Linked DNA regions of Homo sapiens: all the other regions are linked to region 2. Evidence: promoter capture Hi-C in 16 types of primary human blood cells and fetal thymus (Javierre and others, 2016). All regions are on one chromosome and are shown on one strand. Each heading gives the region's core, a stretch centred on a gene start or on the middle of the fragment in contact. The rest is flanking DNA. Distances are from core to core; before and after follow the strand shown.

The links. The method cuts DNA at HindIII sites, captures the fragments that hold promoters and counts their contacts. A CHiCAGO score of 5 or more calls a contact.
Region 1: the fragment with the promoter of FSTL3 here is called in contact with the fragment with the promoter of PRTN3 in region 2 in 4 of 17 cell types (erythroblasts, M0 macrophages, monocytes and 1 more); the score reaches 6.6 in erythroblasts.
Region 3: a contact is called between the fragment with the promoter of WDR18 here and the fragment with the promoter of PRTN3 in region 2, in 12 of 17 cell types (neutrophils, monocytes, total CD8 T cells and 9 more). The highest score is 14.7, in neutrophils.

The regions. Positions count from the first base shown.
Region 1 is chr19:675,073-677,772 of GRCh38, forward strand. It overlaps FSTL3 (follistatin like 3), which reads left to right and starts at 1,320. Exons shown (of 5, transcript NM_005860.3): 1 at 1,320-1,454. The coding sequence starts at 1,352. The HindIII fragment of the contact is 16,650 bases long and covers 1-2,700 here.
Region 2 is chr19:839,593-842,298 of GRCh38, forward strand. PRTN3 (proteinase 3) reads left to right here and starts at 1,407. Exons shown (of 5, transcript NM_002777.4): 1 at 1,407-1,477. The coding sequence starts at 1,417. The HindIII fragment of the contact is 23,301 bases long and covers 1-2,706 here.
Region 3 is chr19:982,741-985,647 of GRCh38, forward strand. WDR18 (WD repeat domain 18) reads left to right here and starts at 1,605. Exons shown (of 10, transcript NM_024100.4): 1 at 1,605-1,823. The coding sequence starts at 1,614. RefSeq lists silencers at 1-260, 1,425-1,514 and enhancers at 1,199-2,140, 1,565-1,714, 1,745-1,924. The HindIII fragment of the contact is 36,612 bases long and covers 1-2,907 here.

The DNA of each region.
Region 1 (2,700 bases), core at 70-2,569, 160 kb before region 2:
CACGTCCGTTTCCACCTGCGGGGTGGGCAATGCCGGCACAGCGAGTGGCCAGACACAGGCATGCCCAGCAGACACCCAACCGCTCTCCACCACCTCAACCTTCTGTATTTTCCTGAAAGCATTTACCACTCCTTGAAGTTATAGATTAATTTGTCTCTGCATTTTGTTGTCCAAACCAGGAGCTCGGTGAGGGTGTGATGGGGTCTGCCTTGGTCACCGTGGCACCCCAGCACCCCGCAGGGTCCCTCTGGCCAAAAGAGATGTTCACTGATGCCCTAGAAGCAGGAACAGAGGGGCTCCCCTGCGCTCGCCAAGGGCGCCTGACAAATCTGGAGGCCCCCATGACAGAATCAGCTCCAGAGTAGGAAATGTGTCTGGCTGCACGAAAGCCCCCTCGGGCGCAGCGCCTCCAGGCCCACGCAGATGTCGCTGTCATACATTGTTGGAAACGCCTCTGCTGGAAACAGTGTTTGCTGAATCTTGGAGGGAGAGGAAAAAACCTAGTAAACATTCTTGTTGAGGTGATCTGGGGGAATGTCTGCAAAGGCTTGGAGGGCTGATGGGGCAGAGCTGCCCAGGGGCCCAGGACAAAGGCCAGGCGTGCGCGCGCACACACACACACACACACACACACACACGCAGTGGCCTCCCTGGGGGCCGTGGCTGGGCGAGGCCTGCTGTTGTCCGAGATGCTGGAAGGAGCTGTGTCTCTGGGTCTGTCCCGGCCGCACCCCGTTCTGTCCCACACCCAACCACTCCCCACCCACAGGCCGGCTCCAGCGGCCAGGTGGACGGGTGCGCGGCCCGCGCTGTGAGCAGGGAACCATATCCAGCTGAGGTTTTGGGTGTGTGGGGCGGGTCGGGAACAAGGAGGCCGGGTTGGGGGGCTCAGACCACACTTGGACCATGAAAGTGACCACATGCAAATCACAGAAACGGGATGCAGGGATCCACAGACGTGCTCCTCTTGGGTCCCCGTTACCTCACCGCCACCCCTGAAACTGAAGACCCCCAAACCCACTTTAATTCCTGGAGACGGCCCCTCGATCCACCCAAAAGGCTGCCACCACCTCGAACCCACACCCCTGTCCCGGTTCCGCCCTGGGTCCAGCCACATCTCCCCAAATGCATTCTCTGGCTCCGGAAGGGGACCCGGGCGCTCGCCCCCAACTGCCCCCCGCAGCGGCCGGGCCCGGCGCCTGCCCACCCCGCGCGGGACACGGCCTCGCCCCCGCCACTCCCGCGCCGCGCCCCGCCCCGCGCCCCGCCCCGCCCGCGGCCCGCGGGACCTTTATAGGGAGCGCCGGCCGCGCGCTGGGAAGTCGGTGCCGCTGCCGTCTCTGCGTTCGCCATGCGTCCCGGGGCGCCAGGGCCACTCTGGCCTCTGCCCTGGGGGGCCCTGGCTTGGGCCGTGGGCTTCGTGAGCTCCATGGGCTCGGGGAACCCCGCGCCCGGTGAGTGGGGCGGCCAGAGGGGCGGGCGGGGCGGGCCACCCACGTGGGGCTGCGCGGAATGCGGCCGGGGGGACGTCGGGGGGCGCGGCGGCGGCGGCGGGGGCGAGGGCGGTGTCCGGCGCAAGCTGGAGCCGGGAAGGTCTGAAGGAGGGTCACCAAGAGGTCAGCAGAGCAGAGGTTTCTAATCACAATGACCGCTGACATTTATTGAGCGCTTAGTGTCTACCTCTCCCCTCCCTGAACCTGTGCCATCCCGATAGTGCCGGAGCTCTCTTCATCTCCGTCTTCCAGATGGGGAAACTGAGGCTCAGGGTCACACAGCCTGTAGCAGGCAAAGCCAGGGTTCTAGCCGCGACCGTCCGGGTCGGTCCTGGTGCCGAGAGGTAGTGCTGGGTGTCGGGAGCCAGGCCCTCCAGCTGGGGCTGAGAGCTTTCCCGGGTCCTGGGTAGACGGGGCATGGAGTCTCACACCTGGGACTTGCCGGGAGGTGCCAGGCAGGAGACGGCCCCACTCCTGGCCTCAGTTTCCCCTCCTATGATGGGTGCCAAGGTGCTGCGTTCCACAAGCTGGTCCCTGGCAGTGTCTGTGAACCAGCAAGCGCTCTGGGATGGGGGCTGTGGCCGTTCCTGCCCCCAGGGACGGGGGAAGAAATGGGGGGCTCTCTGGCTCCCCACCCCCCATCCCTGCAGCCCCACCCCACCCCAGCCCTGCGCCAAAGGGAGAGCAGAGCCCCCTCCCCGAAGGCCACGTCCCTGGGGAGACAGTGAGCTCATGCAAGGGGAATGTTCCCAAGTTGGAGTGAGTAAGAGGCGGGCCAGGCGGTGGGGGGGCTGCCAGGCGCGGGGCTCCGCGTGCCCTCGCCCTCGGGTGCTGTCTAGACAGAGGGCAGAGGCGGGAGAAGCGGCTCCAGGGCCTGCTGACCCTGACATGCCCAGTGCCTGGTGTTTGGTGGTGTTTGAGGGGTTGGGCAGGGTGCCAGCCCCTGGCCTGGGGGCTTGGAGGGTACGGGAAGGGACCTCCTGGGGTGGGTGGGGGTTGGTGGTGAGGCTGTGGGGGGGGGCACGTGGAGCTCAGAGGGGAGGAGACATTTCCAGGGTTCTGGAGCCAGGGTGGGGACACCCATGTGGTTTTCTGCCCCTTCTTCCTGGGTGGGGGTAGATCATTCCGTGCGTAACTACTCAGCACCACCTGCATGCATCTGTGGGCGGGCCAGAAGCTGGGTGTCAGGAGTGGCCCAGGAGAGCAC
Region 2 (2,706 bases), core at 157-2,656:
GCACTGCAGACATGGGGGCTGGATTTGTCTCTGCGGCGGGGCCATCCTGGGCACTGCAGGGCCCTGCCAGGAGCTCCCTCCAAGTCGTGACAACCACGGATGTCTCCAGGCCTCACACAGGGACCCCTGGGGGCAGAATCACCCCAGGGTTAGAGGATTCCACAGACCCCAAGAGACTCTGAGTCCCATGATCCTCTGCCCTGCTGAGGTCCCAGGAGGCTGCACACATTGAAATCCACACCCTGAGTGGGAGGGAGAGAGGAGGCGAGTCCCGGGAGCTGGGGTCCCCCGGGTTTATGCCGTACGCCCCATCGGGAGTTTATTCTGGTGTCCGGTGTGAGCAGGGGGCAGACTGGATTTTTTATTTTTTATTTTTATTTATTTATGTTTTGAGATGGAGTCTTGCTCTGTTGCCCAGGCTGGAGTGCAGTGGCACGATCTTGGCTCCCTGCAACCTTCGCCTCCCAGGCTCAAGTGATTCTCCTGCCTCAGCCTCCTGAGTAGCTGGGACTACAGGCGCCCGCCAACACGCGCAGCTAATTTTTGTATTTTTAGTAGAGATGGGGTTTCACTATGTTGGCCAGGCTGGTCTTGAACTCCTGACCTCAGGCGATCCACCCGCCTCGGCCTCCCAAAGTGCTGGGATTACAGGTGTGAGGCACCGCACCTGGCCATTTTTTTCCCCAAATAATGAACACTGGTCTCTCCCCTGGGCCCTGTGGACATCGGGGCTGGATCCTTCTCTGGGGCAGGCCCGTCCTGGGCACTGCAGGGTGCTAGGCATCATCCTTGGCCTCCACCCACTCCATGCCAGGAGCTCCCCTTTCGTGACAGCCACAGGTGTCCTCAGACCTCGCCCAGGGTCCCCTGGGGGCAGAATCACCTCTTGATTGAGAATCCTGGCCTTAAAGGGGGAAGAAAACCCCCAGACAAAACTGGCAGGAGGATGTTCGCTGGGGCCTCAGGTGAGGCACTGAGGGCACTCGTGGTGGGGCCCTGCCTTCCCGAGCTCTGCATCCTGTCCCCTGCTACGTCCTGCTGTCTGTCCGTTTCCAGCTCACCCACCCACGGGACACACCTGCCACGGCCGGCTTTGCTGGGGCCACAGGGACCTCGTCAGGGAGGCGTCTCCTTGTGGGTGGCACGTGGGCATGTGTTGCTCTGAGGGCTGTGGCCATGTTGCCCACCTGGCCAGGGACCCCCGACTTGGGTGGGTGACAGCCAGCCTCCCCGCCCCCACAAAGGTTGGGACCTTGAGCCCAAAGCCCCCACCTCCTCCCCGGAGTCCGTTCTGACTCCCAGGCTCCCAAGGCAAAAGGAGGAAGTGGGGACCCAGCCTGGGCATTGGGCAACTCAACGGCCTCTGGCATTGGGCTATAAGAGGAGCTTGACCGTGGGTGCACCCTGGACCCCACCATGGCTCACCGGCCCCCCAGCCCTGCCCTGGCGTCCGTGCTGCTGGCCTTGCTGCTGAGCGGTGAGTGAGCCACGTGCCCATCCATCCAGCCTCCAGGCCCCGGTGGATTGTGGGGAAATATCCACCACGAGGTCCATCCAAAGCCCTTCTGGCACAGCTGGGGAAACTGAGGCAGGGTCAGGGGAGACTCCACTCACTGCTCGGGACCAACGCTTGCAGGGGTGGGGAGGACAAGGGCAAGGGGGAGCCCTGGCCATTTGACTCAGTTGCCTATCTGTAAAACGGGCAAAACCCAGCCCTTCCCTCCTGAGGAGCTGTTTTGGGAATTAGCTAGTAACAGGCGAATTCCTGGACAGCACCCAGCCTTCAGCAAATGCTCAGTGAATATGCATGAATGAATGAATGAGTGAATGAATGAGTGAGTGAGTGAATGAGTGAACAAATGAATGAGTGAATGAATCAATGAGTGAGTGAATGAATGAGTGAATGAGTGAATGAGTGAACGAATGAATGAGTGAATGAATCAATGAGTGAGTGAATGAATGAGTGAATGAGTGAATGAATGAGTGAATGAGTGAATGAGTGAACGAATGAATGAGTGAATGAATGAATGAGTGAGTGAGTGAAAGGGTCGAGGAGTTAGTGATGCTGGAATCAGGGGAAGAAGAGAGCATGGGCCCCCTCAGGTCCCTATCCTGAGGGTGATTTTCTTTTTCTTTTTCTTTTTTTTTTTTTTGAGACGGAGTCTCGCCCTGTCGCCCAGGCTGGAGTGCAGTGGCGCGATCTCGGCTCACTGCAAGCTCAGCCTCCCGGGTTCACGCCTTTCTCCTGCCTCAGCCTCCCGAGTAGCTGGGACTACAGGCGCCCACCACCATGCCTGGATAATTTTTTGTAATTTTTGTAGAGACGGGGTTTCAAGGTGTTAGCCAGGATGGTCTCGATCTCCTGACTTCGTGATCCGCCTGCCTCAGCCTCCCAAAGTGCTGGGATTACAGGCGTGAGCCACCGCGCCTGGCCCTTTTTTTTTCTTTTTTGAAACGGAATCTTGCTCTGTCGCCCAGGCTGGAGTGCAGTGGTGCAATCTCAGTTTACTGCAGCCTCAGCCTCCTGGGGTCAAATGATTCTCCTGCCTCCGCCTCTTGAGTAGCTGGGATTACAAGCACACACCACCACACCTGGCTAGTTTTTGTATTTTTAGTAGAGATGGGGTTTCACCACGTTGGTCAGGCTGGTCTCGAACTCCTGACCTGAGGGGGATTTTCAATGCCTCAGTTTGTTCATCTGCAAAA
Region 3 (2,907 bases), core at 355-2,854, 140 kb after region 2:
GCCTTCGCACGGGCCTGCCCCGCACACGGTTCTCTGGGGGTCGCTGGCTCCCCGCTCAAACGGCCCCTCCTGCCGACCAGGCGGGTCCCCGGGGCCGCCCTCCCTCTGGCCTGGGCTCGGGGTCGGTGGCTCGCGCCTGCCACCTGGCGGCCAGCGGGGCTGCGGCGCCGCACGCTCTGGCACCAGCCTCCTGCCCCGGCCGTGCCCTCCGCCGGGAGCCGCGGACCAGGAGTCGCACCGCCTCCGGGGACCGCACCCCGCATGCAGCCTCCAGCCCCTGCCTCTTGCTGCTCGAGGGCACACGACCCAGGTCAGCTGCAACCCCCGGGCGGAAATCCCGACTTTTAAATGAATGCTCCCTTTTTATCCCTTTTTAAGGGGTTGGCAACTAATTGCACATTTTAAATCATACTGTTTTTAGGCCGGACGTTGTGGCTGAAGCCTGTAATCCCAGCGGTTTAAGAGGCCAAGGCCTAAGCCCAGGTGTTGGAGACCAGCCTGAGCAACACAGTGAGACCCCCCATCTCTACTAGATATATATTTAGTATAAATAAATAATAGATATATGTTTTTCTTTGAGACAGAGTCTCATTCGCCCAGGCTGGAGTGCCTGGGATCTCGGCTCACTGAGACCTCCGCCTCCCGGGTTCAAGCGATTCTCCTGCCTCAGCCTCCCACCACGCCCGGCTTTTTGTACTTTTTGTAAAGACGGGGTTTCGCCATGTTGGCCAGGGTAGTCTCGAACTCCTGATCTCAGGTAATCCACCCACCTCGGCCTCCCAAAGTGCTGGGATTACAGGCCTGAGCCAAAGCGCCCGGCCTTTTTTTTTTTTTGAATGCCGTTTTCAGACATGGTCCGTGACGGGCAGCCGTGACATGAAGTTAGACCCTGCTTGGCTCGGACAGAACTGGCGACTTGTTTGACCTACACCAAGCTATCCGACTAATAATTTAGATGTTGAGGCCCCTAAAGAGGGGTCAAGGGGGAGGCAGATGTCGACCAATAAGGAAACACTGGGCCGGGCGCGGTGGCTCACGCCTGTAATCCCAGCACTTTGGCAGGCCGAGCTGGGAGGATCACTTGAGCTCAGGAGTTCGAGGCCAGCCTGGGCAGGACAGTGAGACCCTGGCTCTACAAAACTAAATAAATAAGGAAGCAGTGAATTCCAATGTATTCATCGCCAACTAGCCATGTTGCTGGGTGTGCGCTCTCTCTTTTAGGCGCAATGTGTCATTTAGGCCTGTGACGTCGGAACTTTATTATTTGAACATTTAAAAATAAATGAATCCAAGAGCTTGAGTCACTTGGCCAAAAATGCCCAGGAGGAAAAGGCCAAGTCAGGTACCCCGGCTCTAGAGCTACTAACTGATCGCCGGAGACCCTGGGCCTTGGAAGAAGTCGCCTCCCCAGATCTCTAAGCAGGCCGCGCGACCCTCGAGTCTCAGGTAAGCGGGAAATCCCACTTCACAAGAAAGCCCCTCTCTCCGAGGCACGGGCGCATGCGCGGGTCGGCCACCCGCTGGGGCCGCGGGGCCGCCGCTCTGGCCCGCGTGGGGCAGTCGTCCGCGTCTCGCTCATGATGACGCACGTCCGGGGCGGTGGGGAAGGCAAGATGGCGGCGCCCATGGAGGTGGCCGTGTGTACGGACTCGGCGGCCCCGATGTGGAGCTGCATCGTGTGGGAACTTCACTCGGGCGCCAACCTGCTCACCTACCGCGGCGGCCAGGCGGGACCCCGCGGCCTGGCGCTGCTCAATGGCGAGTATCTGCTGGCGGCGCAGCTGGGCAAGAATTACATCAGCGCCTGGGAGCTCCAGCGGAAGGTGCGGCGGTGCGGTCTCGCTGCTGGGGTCATGGGGCGCCCGAGGCTGAAGTCGGGGGATGGGTTGGTGGGGGCCGCGTGCACCCTTAGTCGGAATTGGCGTGGGGAGGGGAGGTGGTCTCCGTTCGGGCGCTCTGCGCATGCGCGGGTCTGGGGGCTTTGGGGAGATACGTGCGACCTGTTAGGCCGCTCTGCGCACGCGCGGGGCTCAGGCCTGAGCTGCTATGGGGGCAGTGGGGGAAAATGGGAGACGCTCCGGGGGGTCCCTTGGGGCAATTGCGCATGCACGAGTTCTTGGAGCGCGAAATTTGATTAAAAGGGGCCTATGAGCTCTGTGGATGTTGTGGTTCTGGAGGAAAAGGGAGAAGGACCAAGGTCTGGGGGAGTCTCCCATGAAGGGGTGGCGCAGGAAACTCATGTTTATTCCTCCAATAAAGCAACAGATACTCACCGTCGCCCACAGTTTCCCCTCTACTCCCAAGCCCAAATGCAGCCAGTCCCTGAAGCTACTCGCTTCCCCCGTGTGCCCGCTGAGATCTCTTGGGACTGGCTCTGTGCTCCAGCATTGCCTGATGGAGTCTACACACAACTCATAAATTTCTCCCATTTTATTTTAGTTTTGAGACAGGGTCTCACTCTGTCGCTGAGGCTGGAGTGCAGTGGTGCGATCTCGGCTCACTGCAGCCTCTGCCTCTAGGGTTCAAGCGATTCTCGGGCCTCAGCCTCCTGAGTAGCTGCAACTACAGGCCCGCACCAACCACCACACCCGGCCCACATTTGTATTTTTTGTAGAGGCAGGGTTTCACCATGTTGGCCAGGCTGGTCTCGAACTCCTGACCTCAAGTGATCTGCCCACCTCAGCCTCCCAAAGTGCTGGGATTACAGCCGTGAGCCACCACGCCCGGCTGAGTTTTCCCATTTTAGAGAGGAGGAAGCTGAGGCTTGGGGTCTTAGGTTGGACATTATGGATAGAAGGATTGGGGCACAAGCCTACTGGGCTCTTGGGCCCCAGTGTCCTTCTGGATCCTCTTTGTTCTGTTCCTGTACTCCTCCCACCCAGGGCCCCTCTGACCCTCAGAGGAAGC